3 separate regions of the Homo sapiens genome follow, and all the other regions are linked to region 1. The links are contacts of gene promoters, found by promoter capture Hi-C in blood cells and fetal thymus (Javierre and others, 2016). All regions are on one chromosome and are shown on one strand. The core of a region is centred on a gene start or on the middle of the fragment in contact, and the rest is flanking DNA. Distances in the headings are between cores, read along the strand shown. Region 1 holds the start of DDX60 (DExD/H-box helicase 60). Region 2 overlaps PALLD (palladin, cytoskeletal associated protein). Region 3 overlaps PALLD (palladin, cytoskeletal associated protein).

What was found. Contacts are between HindIII fragments. The CHiCAGO score rates a contact against its expected background, and 5 or more counts as called.
Region 2: a fragment that was not itself captured here is called in contact with the fragment with the promoter of DDX60 in region 1 in 1 of 17 cell types (neutrophils); the score reaches 6.0 in neutrophils.
Region 3: a fragment that was not itself captured here is called in contact with the fragment with the promoter of DDX60 in region 1 in 1 of 17 cell types (neutrophils); the score reaches 5.0 in neutrophils.

Annotation. Positions count from the first base shown.
Region 1 is chr4:168,316,190-168,320,653 of GRCh38, reverse strand. DDX60 (DExD/H-box helicase 60) reads left to right here and starts at 1,902. Exons shown (of 38, transcript NM_017631.6): 1 at 1,902-2,032. RefSeq lists an enhancer at 1,639-1,968. The HindIII fragment of the contact is 2,588 bases long and covers 1-2,413 here.
Region 2 is chr4:168,611,373-168,615,836 of GRCh38, reverse strand. The region is part of intron 2 of PALLD (palladin, cytoskeletal associated protein); the gene reads right to left. The region is part of intron 1 of LOC124900807 (a long non-coding RNA gene); the gene reads left to right. Among named protein-coding and RNA genes, the nearest start is that of PALLD-AS1, 35 kb to the left of the region's middle. The HindIII fragment of the contact is 4,616 bases long and covers 1-4,464 here.
Region 3 is chr4:168,583,087-168,587,550 of GRCh38, reverse strand. The region is part of intron 2 of PALLD (palladin, cytoskeletal associated protein); the gene reads right to left. The region is part of intron 1 of LOC124900807 (a long non-coding RNA gene); the gene reads left to right. Among named protein-coding and RNA genes, the nearest start is that of PALLD-AS1, 63 kb to the left of the region's middle. The HindIII fragment of the contact is 4,669 bases long and covers 357-4,464 here.

The DNA.
Region 1 (4,464 bases), core at 653-3,152:
CCTACAATACAGTTTGCAATATTGTATTAGTTCTCTATGGCTGCTGTAACAAATTACCACAAATTTAGTGGCTTAATACCACACAAGTTTGTTCTCTTACAGTTCTGAGCTCAGAGGTTCAAAATCAGTCTCTCTGGGCTGAAGTCAAGGTGTTATCAGGGCTGATTTCTGGAGGCTCTAGAAAAAAAAAATGTTTCCTTGCCTTTGGTAGTTTCTAGAGACCACCAGACTCCTTGGCCCGTGGTCCCTTCCACTGTCTTCAACGCCATCTGTGTAGTGTCCCCACATTCTGTCACTGACTGTTTCTATCATCACATTGCCCCTCGAACTCCTGTCTCCCTCTTATAAAGGCCCTTCTGATGACCTTGGGCCCACCTGGATAATCCCGGGTAAGGGGTAATCTCCTCTTCTAAAGATTCTTATTTAATCTATTTTGCAAAGTTACTTTTGCTATGAAAGTTACTGTATTCATAGGTTCCAGGAATTAGGATTTTGGCCTCTTTTGGAGGGAGGAGTGCAGGGTATTATTCAGCCTACCCCAGGCAGGTACATCAGAGATCACAGTGAAGGAGACAGGAATATTGGCTGATTTAAGACCAATCATGTGTTAAATTCTAGAGTCTTTTATTTTCTTTCTTAATCTCATCACTAACAAACACGTGAATTTCTAAACAAATGAATAAACAAGTAATTGTCTGATGGATGTGAGAAATGTCCTCCTTCCCCATATCCCCCTCTTTTAACAACTTGACTCTCTAATTTTTCACAAGACAAAGTATCATTCACTACTCTCTCTGTTCTGTGTTCCCTGTGGAGCAGTGCCTGGACCTTGGCTCTTTCCTTTCCTTGTAGACAAAGCAGCCTGTGGCTTCTTATCATGCTGATTACCCAAATTCACTGCTGTCTTTCCTCCACACCCTCTTCTATTTCCAATATATGAATGCATATTTATAGCATTAATGAAATCAAGCATACGAGGGCACTGAAAGGAAAGGAGATGAGTATCGAAACCCACACTGCAAGTATCAACAGGCAAAAATTAAGAGAACATTTCATCAATTTGAGGCACAAATAAATGTGACCATTCTGCATTTTCAATTTATTTTTTAATGTTGATTCTTGGCCCATGAAAGTACCAATTACAGTTTATACAGAACAGTAATCATCAGCTTCTCATAACAGAAACTCAAAGTTCATGTATTGTTACATACTTTCTTTTTTCTTTTTGCATACAAGTAGAAGCAGCAAGATCTCCAATTTCATTGTGGGGTTTCAGATTCCACAGTGTCTTTTACATTTTATCAATTTCTAAATTCTAACTCTTCTTGATTTTATCTTGTTTAGATGTTACAAATTTTTCTGCCTCAATTTACTCTATATTTATGCCCAAATTCCAAAGCCCATTTTTATTGCCTTTGTCTCTCTCTTTTAAGGTTTTTTTTAGTTTCATTTTATTTTTAATTGACGCATAATAATTGTATATATTTTTGGGGTACAATGTGACGTTTCAATACATGTATACATTGTGTGATGATCAAATCAGGATAATTAGCCCATCTATTACCTCAAAACTTTACTATTTCTTTGTGATGAGAATATTCAAAATTCTCTCTTCTAGCTATTTTGAAATATGCATTATTGTTAACTATACACACCCTACTGCAGAATAGAATACCAGAACTGGTTCTTCCTAGCTATTGTAACTTCATACCTTTTAACTAACGTCTCGCCATGCTCCCCTTCTTAAGATTCTGATTGAAGGGAAGGATGCTAAACTTTCCACGAAAGTGCCTCGCCTAATTCGTGCTGAAGGGAAACTGAAACCTAAGTGCTTCTGAGAGGAGAAAGGAAACCGAAACTCCCGCCGGATGCATAAAAGACTGGCTGCGGTGGCTCAGAGCGCCGAGTCCTAGGCCAGGTCTGGGGTAACCTGGAACTTCCACCTGGGCTCTGCGCTAGGTCTCTGTTTCACTCCCTCCCCGCGGGGCGCGCAGCTCGCGGGTCTTTGGACACCACCGGTCCTGAGTCCGCGGTGAGGAGCCGGGGATGTCCCTTGGGAAGAGCCTGGGGCGGAGCTGTCTAGCGGGAGTTCTAGGTCTTCTTCAACGGACCGGACAGGGAGGTGGCCCAGGAGTGCTGGGCTCGGGGCGCGGGAATCTGGGGAACCTCCTGGGATCGCAAGGCCGTGGCGCACGGGCCCCCTGCTGGCCCGGAAGGCCGGGCGTGGGGAGGGGCGGAGGAAAGGGACAACCGCGAAAGGCCTGAAGTCTGAGACAGAGAGGAGTGCTTAGTTAGGCATTTAAGGAGTCCCCGTCAAAGGTGGGAGCTGGGTAATGGAGGTTGAGGAGAAATTAAGGGACATCATATCTAAGCACAGCCAGTAAAACCTGTACATTGACAGCAGCAAGAAGCTTCCACCTTCAATCCCTGCTCCAGACTTGTAGAATCAGAATCTGCGTTTATTAATAAGATTCCCCCAGGTAATTTCTGTGCACCCTTAAATTTCAGTGGCTTAAGACAATAGAAATTTATTTCCTACTCCAGTAACTTAATTTATTCCTGGTCAAGGGGCAGGTATAGTGGCTTAAAACATTACAAGTTTATTATTTTACAATTGCTGTGGATCAGAAGCCCAGGCATGGGTAAAGTGAGTTCTCTGTTCAGCATCTCATCGAGCTGAAATCAAGGTGTCAGAGCTGTGGCCTCATGGGACACCATGGATGCTCATTCAGGTTGTTGGAAGAATTCAGTTTCTTGCAGCTAAAGGACTGAGGTTACCTGCTTTCTTGCTGGCTGTTGGCTGGGGGTTCCCATGTCTTTAGATTTCACCCTGAGATCTTAGCTACAGTGGCCTTCTCACAACAAGGTGGCTTATACCGTTAAAGAAGGTATAGGGTACCTTTAAAGAAGGTATAAGCCTCTTTGGGGGAATCTCCCGAGTCTACTATGATGAAGTCTTACATAATATAACCGAATCATTAAAGAGACTATGCCATTAAATTCACAGGTCCTGTCCACACTCAAGGGGAGAGGGTTATACCGGGTACTGGAAGCCATTTTAACCCACCAGCTCTTCTCCAGGCAGGGTTTCAGGAGCTTGATGCCTTTCATCAAGTAGCTCCACCATTCTGTTCCAATACAGAATCCATGATTTCCTTTCCCTTCCCTTGCCCCCATTTTTTTCCTCTTTACCTCCCCTTTGCGCCTTTCCTCTTCCCTCCTTTTTTCTCTTTTCCATTTCTCTTCCTCCCTTCTTCTTTTCTTCTTCCTTTTTAAGATTGTTTGAATCAGAATATGGTTCTGACACTACTGTGATTGGAGGATAAGCCTTATAAGGTTCTTGCAATTTCTTTCATCCCCTTTTAATTTATTCGTTTGTAAGATTTGTGGTCTTATGATTGTTTGTTTTTGTATGTGTGTGTCCTGTTGGGTGTGTGTTTATGTGTGTGTGTGTGTATGTGTCCTAATCCCTGTGGTGTCATTTAACATATTTTGCTGGCCTCTAAATTTCTTGTAAATTAATCATTACTACTAGCGTTTTGATCAGATTCAGGTTTTCTTTTTTTTCTTCTTCTTCTTTTTTTTTTTTTTTTTTTGAGACGGAGTCTTGCTCTTTTGCCCAGGCTGGAATGCAGTGGCTTGATCTCAGTTCACTGCAACCTCTGCCTCCCAGGTTCAAGCGATTCTTCTACCTCAGCCTCCCAAGTAGCTGGGATTACAGGTGACTGTCACCATGCCCAGCTAATGTTTGCATTTTTAGTAGAGATGGGGTTTCACCATGTTGGCCAGTCTGGTCTCGAACTCCCGACCTCAGGTGATCTGCCCGCCTTGGCCTCCCAAGTTTTGGGTTTCTTTTTTTTTTGGCTGGGAGAACTACAATACTTCACTGATGGTGTGGACACTTGCCTCTATTTTTGTTGTGCTATCGTTTAAAAATACCAAGATCTGTTAATTCATTAGGAGTTGTAAAATGGTGATATTCTAATTCTATCATTCCTTCTGTGTTTATTAGCTGCATTATTTCTAGAAATGAATCACTCTTGTATCTACTCTTTGGTAATGCGATGGTGCAGTACTTAGAAGAAAAGCAGGATAATTTCTTGATTCCATAAACCATTATTTTTTTTCATATATTGTCTTCAGATGCTATTGCTGGACATCCTGCTGTGAAAGATGAAGAATTTAGCATTCATATTTATTTTTCTTTCATTCATCCCTTTGTGAACTGCCAAGTTGGTTAATTATATTATTATTTTCATACTGTCAAGGTTTATCATATTTTACAGCAGTTTGTGACTTTGATTCTTGTGATTTGTTTGTATGTTGAGTCAACAGTAAAAAAGAAGTAAACAGCAGTGACAAAATTATGAGTATGTACACATTACTCAGTGTAGAAGCAATCTAGGAATTGCTAGGCTAAGACATGTAGTTCTATGTTGTTAAAATTACTGTTTGAAATAGACT
Region 2 (4,464 bases), core at 958-3,457, 290 kb before region 1:
ATTTAAAACTGAAGGCTCCTACTGATAGGTTTTTCAGAAGGAGTCACTGGTGGGATTCGGAATGGTTACCCTTCATTGCTTTGGTGAGTGATACCTCAAAGATAATGCAGGAGAAATTACAAGCACCCCCCTTGGCTGGGGAGGCAGCAACATCGCCTTTCAGATGTCACATCAGACCCCTCTGAGATGGGTGCTGAGGATCCCTTGGTGGAACTGGCAAGGTGTGGGGACACATGCTTTTGATTATCTAAAGAGAATGAGTATGAAAACAAAACCTAATCCAAGAAGGAATGTAAATCCTGTCTCTTTGTGCCCCGTTGAAATGTAATGTCAGTACTTAAGAATTCCTTTTGCCACTAAATGGACTCGGGCCAGATACTGACACCCAGAGCCCAAGTTCTGTTATTTTCCTTGTGAAATTGTAAGGAGAAATGTCTTCATGATTACCAAAGTATGTGTGGATAGATGGTAATGAAGATAAATTGTTTTTCCCTTGCCTGATACCCGAGCCCTTTGTGGTATATGCCACAATGTAGCTGTTACAAAAATCATATTTATTTATATGCTGTTTGGGACAGAAAGTGTGTGAAACTGAAGCATGAATGTGATTTCTATTCTTAGTACCTTTTGTATGAATTTTTTAATGTAATGCTTTATAAAGTTTTTTTTTTTTTTAACTTACCATCTTTCCCAGGAACGAGGGCAAAAGTACTCAAAAAATGCATTGCAAGAAATATGAGCTAAACCCTGTATACAGCAGTTTATTCCCTTAGCCTATTTCTTTAATCATGTAACCCTAATCAATGAACCTCCTAATATCCATGCACTGGGGCTTATTGGCTCTAGCTATCCCTTGTATTCGAGGAATCTTCTGCCATTGTGTTTTAAATACCCACAGCCTATTGGCAATCTTGCTGCTGTTGCTTTTTATTCATGGTCTTAGTCTTGGGATATTCAAATAACTTACTGAAATGTTACCATCCCACACTGATGTGGTTTACCGTGCAGGACTGGGGAGGAACGCATGCTTTTGGAAAGAAGAGAAGTCTTTGTTATTAGGATTGATTTCATTTCATTGTACTTTTGGCTGCCTTTTCAGCATTAGGTTCTTTTCCTGTGATTTTTTTTTAAATAGTTAATAGAGAAAAATATACCCAAGTTAGTGGATGGTCTAGGGACCTAACTACATCTGGAAGTTTACATGAGCACTGAGAGTCCACTATGCAAAAGCAAAGGCAAAATGATACCATCTAATAAACACTTGTAAAAGTATGCATGATACTTACAAAGTATTTTTTTTTAATCAGAGTCCCATTTGTTTATTGCTGCTTTATGGTTTTTCAAATTGGAGAAAGCTATTTCAAACATGTATGATACACATAAGAGCAATTTCCAGATACAAAGAAATCTTTGGCAAAAAAACATTGACTAGGCCAGCCAGTGTGGCTGCTCTCTCCCTCTCTTGAGCTGGGAGCTGTTGTTTTGGGCACAAGGGTCTCCCTAGCGCAGCATGGTCACTGACATAGGCCTTCCTTTAATTTATTACTATTATTATTTTAAAAATATGAGTGACAGAGTCCACAGTGTCTTTTTAAAAAATAATACAATCCAGGACTTTTTAGAAAAAATGATTAAGACCAGTAGAGTGCTCAATATGATAGAGAAAAAAGACAGGAGGCAGGAATCCAGCCAAGAGGAAAATACACTTTTCATTTTCTTCCTGAGACTGGAGATTCTCTGCTAAAGTGAAGGCGCCATCCACAGAGTTACATCTGATGGACATTACTTATGACATGACTTAAGCAGAGAAAGAACAGTCGAAACCGAATTCTCCAGCCTTTAAATGAATTCCCAGCTACAAACCAGAAGAATAACACTATTAGGTCTGGAGGGCAGCAGGATGTGGAGCTCTACGACTCAGATTTCTTTTCACGATGTTGGCATGACTTTGTAGGATCTATGTATTATTTATGTGGCACCACTACCATGTTTTTAAATACTCTTTGGATATACACCCGTGAATTAGTTTAATCGAATTCTCCCATTTTTATCCATAACGAGTTCTAGTCTTTGTAGCCAGCATGACTTGGGGCACACTCTGTCTCCTGGAAGTCTTGGGGTAATCCCAGAGGTTCATTATTTCTAATTACTTCATATCTAAATGTGTAGTCCTGAGCTCATTGCACAAACCAGCCAAAGGAGGTAGGATTCTTCTCCCCACTACTTTCCTCTCAATATAAATATGTATGTTTCACAACCAAGCCCTTATAGCCAAAACCAAAATCTGCATCCATTTCTGGCATTGTTATCTGGAATACAGGATGCAACACAATTAATTGCAGAGAGTGCTGACACATATCCAAAAGATGAGGAGAAGATGATGTGGACAGGTAAAGATTGAGGCTGAGGATGGTCTGTAGGTGAGGGGAATTCTGAAAAGAATTACGGTGCATGCTCTTTGATGCGGTATGGCTGTCAGAAATACATACACCTCAGTCAAGATGTTTATCTTTGTTGTATTTTGGTGTCTCTATTCATCTTGAGCATGAAACTAGGGTGAACAATTCATTTGGGTTTGTCCTGGACTTTCTTGGTTTCAGCACTGAATGTCCTGCATCCCAGTAAACCCCTCAGTCCGAGGCAAATCAGGATGGTTGGTCACTCTACAAGGCACCTAGACACAGGCATTTGAGATATCTAAATGTGTGTGATGCATTGCAAAGGGTGACATTAGAAACTCAGTTTTTCTGTCATGCCACCTCCCAGAATATTTTCATTTTTCTCCACTAGTTACTGAAGGAAGTTGATGGGGGAAAAGGTATTCAGGAAGCAGAAACTTCAGCCCCATGCTGGCAAGATGGATTCTTGATGATGAAAGCCTGGTAGTTCCGAATCCAGTGAGGGCATAGTCCAGAAAGCTCTTTGAATTCCAGGGTTTCAGAGACATGGGTTCTCTAATATAAGCATGCATTTTCCTCCACACTCCCTTCTAAGGAGCATTCTGCACTGCCCTTTTTGCCTCCAGGACCCTGGGAGAAGATTTTCAGGAAGTTTAGCTCTAAGCACAGCATGAGTCCCTCGACTCTATCCCTAAGGAGTTTCTAGTAAAACAGGAAAAAAATTTATAGATATTTTTGGTGACACATCTCTGTTTCTCTTGGATGAGTCACTGTGTTGAGACAGACTTTGAGGCAGTTGCAAGGCAGTCTGGTTTAATTCACCTTACGTTTGGGGGCAAATGTCCCAGATTTTCGACCTAAAGAACAATGCACAGCTGTACCTTAGATAAAATTATTACCCCAGAATGCAGCCAAGGAAAACTTTCACCATTGTTCAGCTGCTGGACAGATTGGAGCAAGGGAGTTGGGGCTCAACTTGACACAAGCATTCATGGTTCTTGTAGTGATCATCCACGAATCAGAAAACTGTGGAGACGTCTCTGGGATCAGAATTATCACTATGGGAGAAATCCTGGGTTGGGGGTGGAACCACATGGGGATGTGATATATCAGTTCCCTATTTCAAGGGGGTTGAAGAGATGATTTTGGAAATTATAAGATGAGCATTTTTTTTTTTTTTTTTGTAAACCTAGATTTCAAGGACACTGAATTTCTTAAAAGTAGGCATTTTAGGAAACTTAGAAGAGGTCTGTGGTGGACATTTTTATTTTTATTTTTGAGACAGGGTCTCACTTCGTCACCCAGGCTGGAGTGCAGTGGCACGATCCTGGCTCACTGCAGCCTCAACCTCTCGGGCTCAAGTGGTCCTCCCACTTCAGCTTCCCAAGTAGCTGGGACTATAGGCATGTACCACCACACCTGGCTAATATTTGTACTTTTTGTTGAGATGGGGTTTTGCCATGTTGCCCAGGCTGGTCTTGAACTCCTGAGCTCAAGCAATCCACCCACCTCAGCCTCCCAAAATGTTGGGATTACAGGCATGAGCCATGGCGCCTGGCCTGTTGGACATCTTTACACTGATGAATCTGACTCATTAATGGAACTGCATCCTCTGAGCTCTTTCAGTAGGACAGAGAATCAAGCAGGCTTTAAGACTGCTGGTGAGAAACATGTACTACCAGAAAGAAGAAAAATCCGTGAGCAGTATCAGCCCAGATTCCAGGTAGTTGAGCATTAAAATGGTACCAGAAAGGCAAAACTTCAAAACAGACAAATGCCAGAAGTGAAATGTAGCCTGCAGAATTTTTCATTACTATTTGGTCATAGAATAAGTCTTCAAGGACCTCAGTTTTGCTTATAGATTAATCTGATAGTCTTCAGATACATATGTCAAATTGAAGAGTTGATACGATCTGTAGGTTTAGGTGTTTTTGTTTTGCTGTTTCCTTGTATGTTAACAAGAAGAAGAGAGGAAGGTGCTACCTTTGTGTTTGTGCTTTAGGAGCTCTGGCAGCTGGCCCCCGGCAGGATGTGATGGAACATAGCTCACAGGATCAGAGACAAT
Region 3 (4,464 bases), core at 1,442-3,941, 270 kb before region 1:
TTCACATCCGCTCTCCCTAGCACTGAAGCCTCCCTGCGCTTTGGAGTCCCTGGCAGAGACTGGTTTGGGCAGTCTTTCCAGTGAAATCTGGTGAGCTGTCTGCTGCTTTAGCCAAGGAGTCCTGCTACTGAATGACATAAACAGTTCCCTTTCTTCAAGGGTGAAAGTATATTGGTGTGTTCTAGCAAACCAAGCAAAACGTGAAAAATATTTCAATTTTTAGGTGGCATTTGGTCAAGTGATTGCCTATGTGGTCTTCAAAGAATGTCTCCACTGGGGATTGACTATCATGATGCCAGAATTTTCCAAATCCCTAGACTCTTGAAGATCTTTCTAGCTGCTATCATTTGAAAGCTTAGCAGATTGTTGTTTATATCTACACACCCGCATTCTTCAACATCAGCACTGCAGGCATTTTGGGCTGGAGAATTCTTTGTCGTCGGGGGGTGTCCAGGGCACTGTGGGATGTTTAGCAGCTTCTCTGGCTTCTACTCTCTAGTACACCCCTCTCCCAGTGGTGACAACCGAAATGTCTCTAGGCATTGACAAATGTCTTCTGAGCAGAAGCGCAGCTCTGCAAAGAGACTGTCTAGGATACTAGACTTTTCCTTTTTACTCACTCTCTTATCGCATGGTACCCCTAGCTATGTCTCCTTGCCCTGAGGGAACGTTCGATTTTTTTTTAAGGAAATTCAGGAGAAAATATTTTTTAATTCCACAAAAGAATTAATGCAGAATTGAGAGACTGAACTGATGATGATTTGGTATATAAGGGTTTGAAAGACCTCTAATGTTTAAATTAGGCTTGTTCCATGGATGTCCAGAGTGCCCTGGAAAGCATGACCCATTTGAACCCAGGAAGCAATCAGCTCTGCCACCAGGAGCACTGGGCAGCCATATGATCAGAAACTGGGTTTACAGTTCAAACCCAGTACTGGGTTCTAATCCATACTTGCACAATGATTCAGCTTACGTTTTAGCTTGGCAGTTCTAGAAATCTCTGGCTATCTCAGTTTTACCAGTTCTAAAGTAAAGAGAGGGATTCGCTCCTCCTCTCCCTCCCACAATTCCCAAATTAGTGATCAACGACAGCAAAACGAATTGGGTCCAGCATGTAGACAGTGGTGAATTCTGGACTTTGCTGGGCAAGGGAATCTCAAGTTGAGGCTCAATTGTGAGGTGTAACAAGGTGTGTAAAAAAAAACGTTCTCTATATTCTTAAGAAGGGAGTTGCTACATAAATTTGGGGCATATCTAATTCCTAATGGTTTACCAGGAGTTTGGGAATACTGGAATCAAGGGGTGAAGAGTCTCAGCTTTTCTTTTTTGTGGGGCCGGAAGTAGTAGCTTGATAGGCACTGCTTAGAAAGCCTTTTTTTTTTTTTTTTTTTTTTTTTAGGTCTCTTGAGGACCTGGAGAAGCGATGTAGTATACTAAAGATATCTTAAAGTGCTCAAACACTCTGGCTAAATAAAAATTTCTCAAGACATTTCTTTCCAACTCGAACAAAATTACCAAAATATGAGGACATTGGTAACATTTAAACAGCAACCTTAATAGACCTATAATAGTAAACAATACGACTGTATTTGGTTTGAGGGAAAGAAGTTTATCTAGCTAATGCTATTTTCCTGACATTCTACCAATGCAAAGGACCCTGGATCCAATACTTTAATATGTCATTGTGTGGAAATCTCAGCTCTGGCCTCTTAAGAGTACTAAGAAGATTCCCCAAGCTAACTCTGACATTGTTTGGGAAACTTGGCTCCTAAGAGCAGGCGTGGGCTGCTTGGTTCCACCCTGGGCTGGGGAGCTTTTCAACTGGTATTGTGTCCACAGGCTCCCTCAGCTGGTGTCTCCGAAAACGACAGGCTGCTCCTCATACTGTCCTGAGCGCTCAGAATTAAACTGATGGGGCCAGGGGCACACTCAGTGCCTGCGCTGGGGACTGGATCCCAGGCCCCCCTCTGTTTTCTCTTCTATCTAAGAGTGCCTTCGTGCATAGACATGACAGCATTGATGAGCTGTGGGATGGCTGCAATCCCTACTTCATAAAAAGATGTGGGTCAGTAGAGAGAGGTGGGAGGAGAGGCATAAGGCTGGTTGCAAATCTCTTTTCTGTGACCTGCCAGTATAATTGAAGCTACATTGTTAGTTACACCTCATCTATGAAATGGGTTACACCTCATCTATGAAATGGGTTAATCATTTCCTCTCCTACACGGACACACACACACACACACACACACTCACACTCATATATTCTCATGGTCACACACACACACTACTCATAAGGATGTTGTGAGAATTAAACAAGATAATGGTTATAAAACCACTTGATAAACTGCAATATGTCATAAAATTTTGAAACTATTGTTTTTGTTGTACATCATGAGCAGTATGTCCTGTGTTCCTACATCTTTTAGAGACCATTCAATACATTTGGAATCTATTACCAAATAGAAATAGTTTCCAAAACAAACATATCTATCTTCTTGTCAGTTAGAATTAGTCAAATTTTTATCATAAATAACTATTATTATATAAACCAGTTATATGGGAACTGGTGTAAAATAGCCAAGAAAGGGGGGAACTCTACTAGACATTCCAAATAAATGTGTAGTTTCTTCATGTGTGTGTGCATGGGTACTTTGTTGAGGGAATATTTTGCTCACCATTGGCCTAGAATAAATGTTTGTTAAATGAATGAAAGAAAATATACATTATATAATGACTTTCCATCAAACAGTCCCCCTCAAGTTTATCCATATTCTCAGCCATGGCAGGATTTTCCATCACACATGGTCCACATTTGAATGTTCATATTCAGAAACACGGCTGGGTGAAACTAAAGTTTACTCATTTTTGGATGGCAGAAACAAACCACAGATTGAAATAGAAGACATTGTAAGCAATGTGTCTGACATACTTGGTGACTAAGATAGAAAACAATTCCTTAGATGCCTTAAAAGTGACATTTATTTTATATATCCAACTTTTCATGAAGGCAATCACACAAATTAAGATTGTTAACACATACTCTAATGAAGGATTAAGTAGAAATTTAAATGGAAAGATGACAAAATCCAAAATAACAATTTTTGGTTGAGATCCAAGAAAGATGACTTATGAACACATTTCTTTGTTTAATGCCAGACCCAGTAAAAGTACCATCTTGGTTATCTGGCATCTGTTCCATGCCTATTGGCATTCTTAACGCACACTGTAATGATACAGTGGTTCAGCAGAGGGATGCTTACACTTTGTTGAAATCTGAATATATTAATTTTAATTGCTTTAAATTAAAACTGAAGACGAGGTAAAAAAAAAAAAAACCTGATGGTCTTAGAGTACTATATAAGCTGGTGCTAGATTTTACCTGATGTCTATACATAATGATTTCCAATTATGCAAAGCCACATTGGAATGGGACAAAATAAAAGTGGGATAGGGATAGAATCTGATATTTATTTGGTTCCTTCTTTGTGTTAGACACTTTATGTGCCATTTCATTAGCTTCATATGCACCCACGCACAGAGTTTCATGCTCCTTATTTCAGAGATGAGAAATTTTGGGCTCAGAAAATTTAATTGCATGTACTAGAACTGGTAGAGAAAAAATGGAAACTATGCCTTTCTTGGTGGTGGGGAATACCACCACCTCAGTTTGGATTGGAAGGTTGGAAGAAAGAAAAGATATCGAAGGAAAGTAGACCTGAGAACTAGGCTTGGTAAACAGACAAGGTCCCATTGGCCACCCAGCAGAGCAGAAGTATAGAGTAAAAGCACATTGGTAGGAAAAGAAAAATATTATCACAGATATCCCAAGGGCTGAGATGTGTAATATTTAGTCCATTAGTCCATTAGCCTTAAATGGAAAATAAATATTCTTTTCAAGTGAAGTAAATCTTGAGTCTCCCTCTTTATCCAACTCCATCAAACTGATTGGTGCACTGGAAATATTTCCAGAGGAACCCAGACTAGGAAATAAGTCTGGTGCATGAAGATGACGGTCTATGTAATCTAGAACCTTTCTACTCCAAGTGTGATATGCAGACCAGCAGTATCAGTACTCCCTGGGAGCTCTTTGTGATTGTGGAATCTCAGTCTCCAGCCCAGACCTGCTGAATCGAAATGTGCTTGGAAAACTCCTCAGGTGATTCGTATGCACATTAATGTTTGAGAAGCACTGATCTAGAATAAAATTTTTTAGTTTCAGCATCATCTATTCACTTTCACATACTTTTTAGATAATTATAAAGGATATTTCACTTTATTCATCCATACCATACACATAGCAAAATATTGTAGGAACAATATCTTAGATTTCACTGTTTCTCATCCTCCTAACTTTTCCTAATAAAACAAAAAGAAATGTCTCTGTATTTATTTTAGTTTTGTACATATTCTACTTGGTCTTTTCTCTTGTTCCTAAAGACTATATGATAAGTACATTAGGGCTGA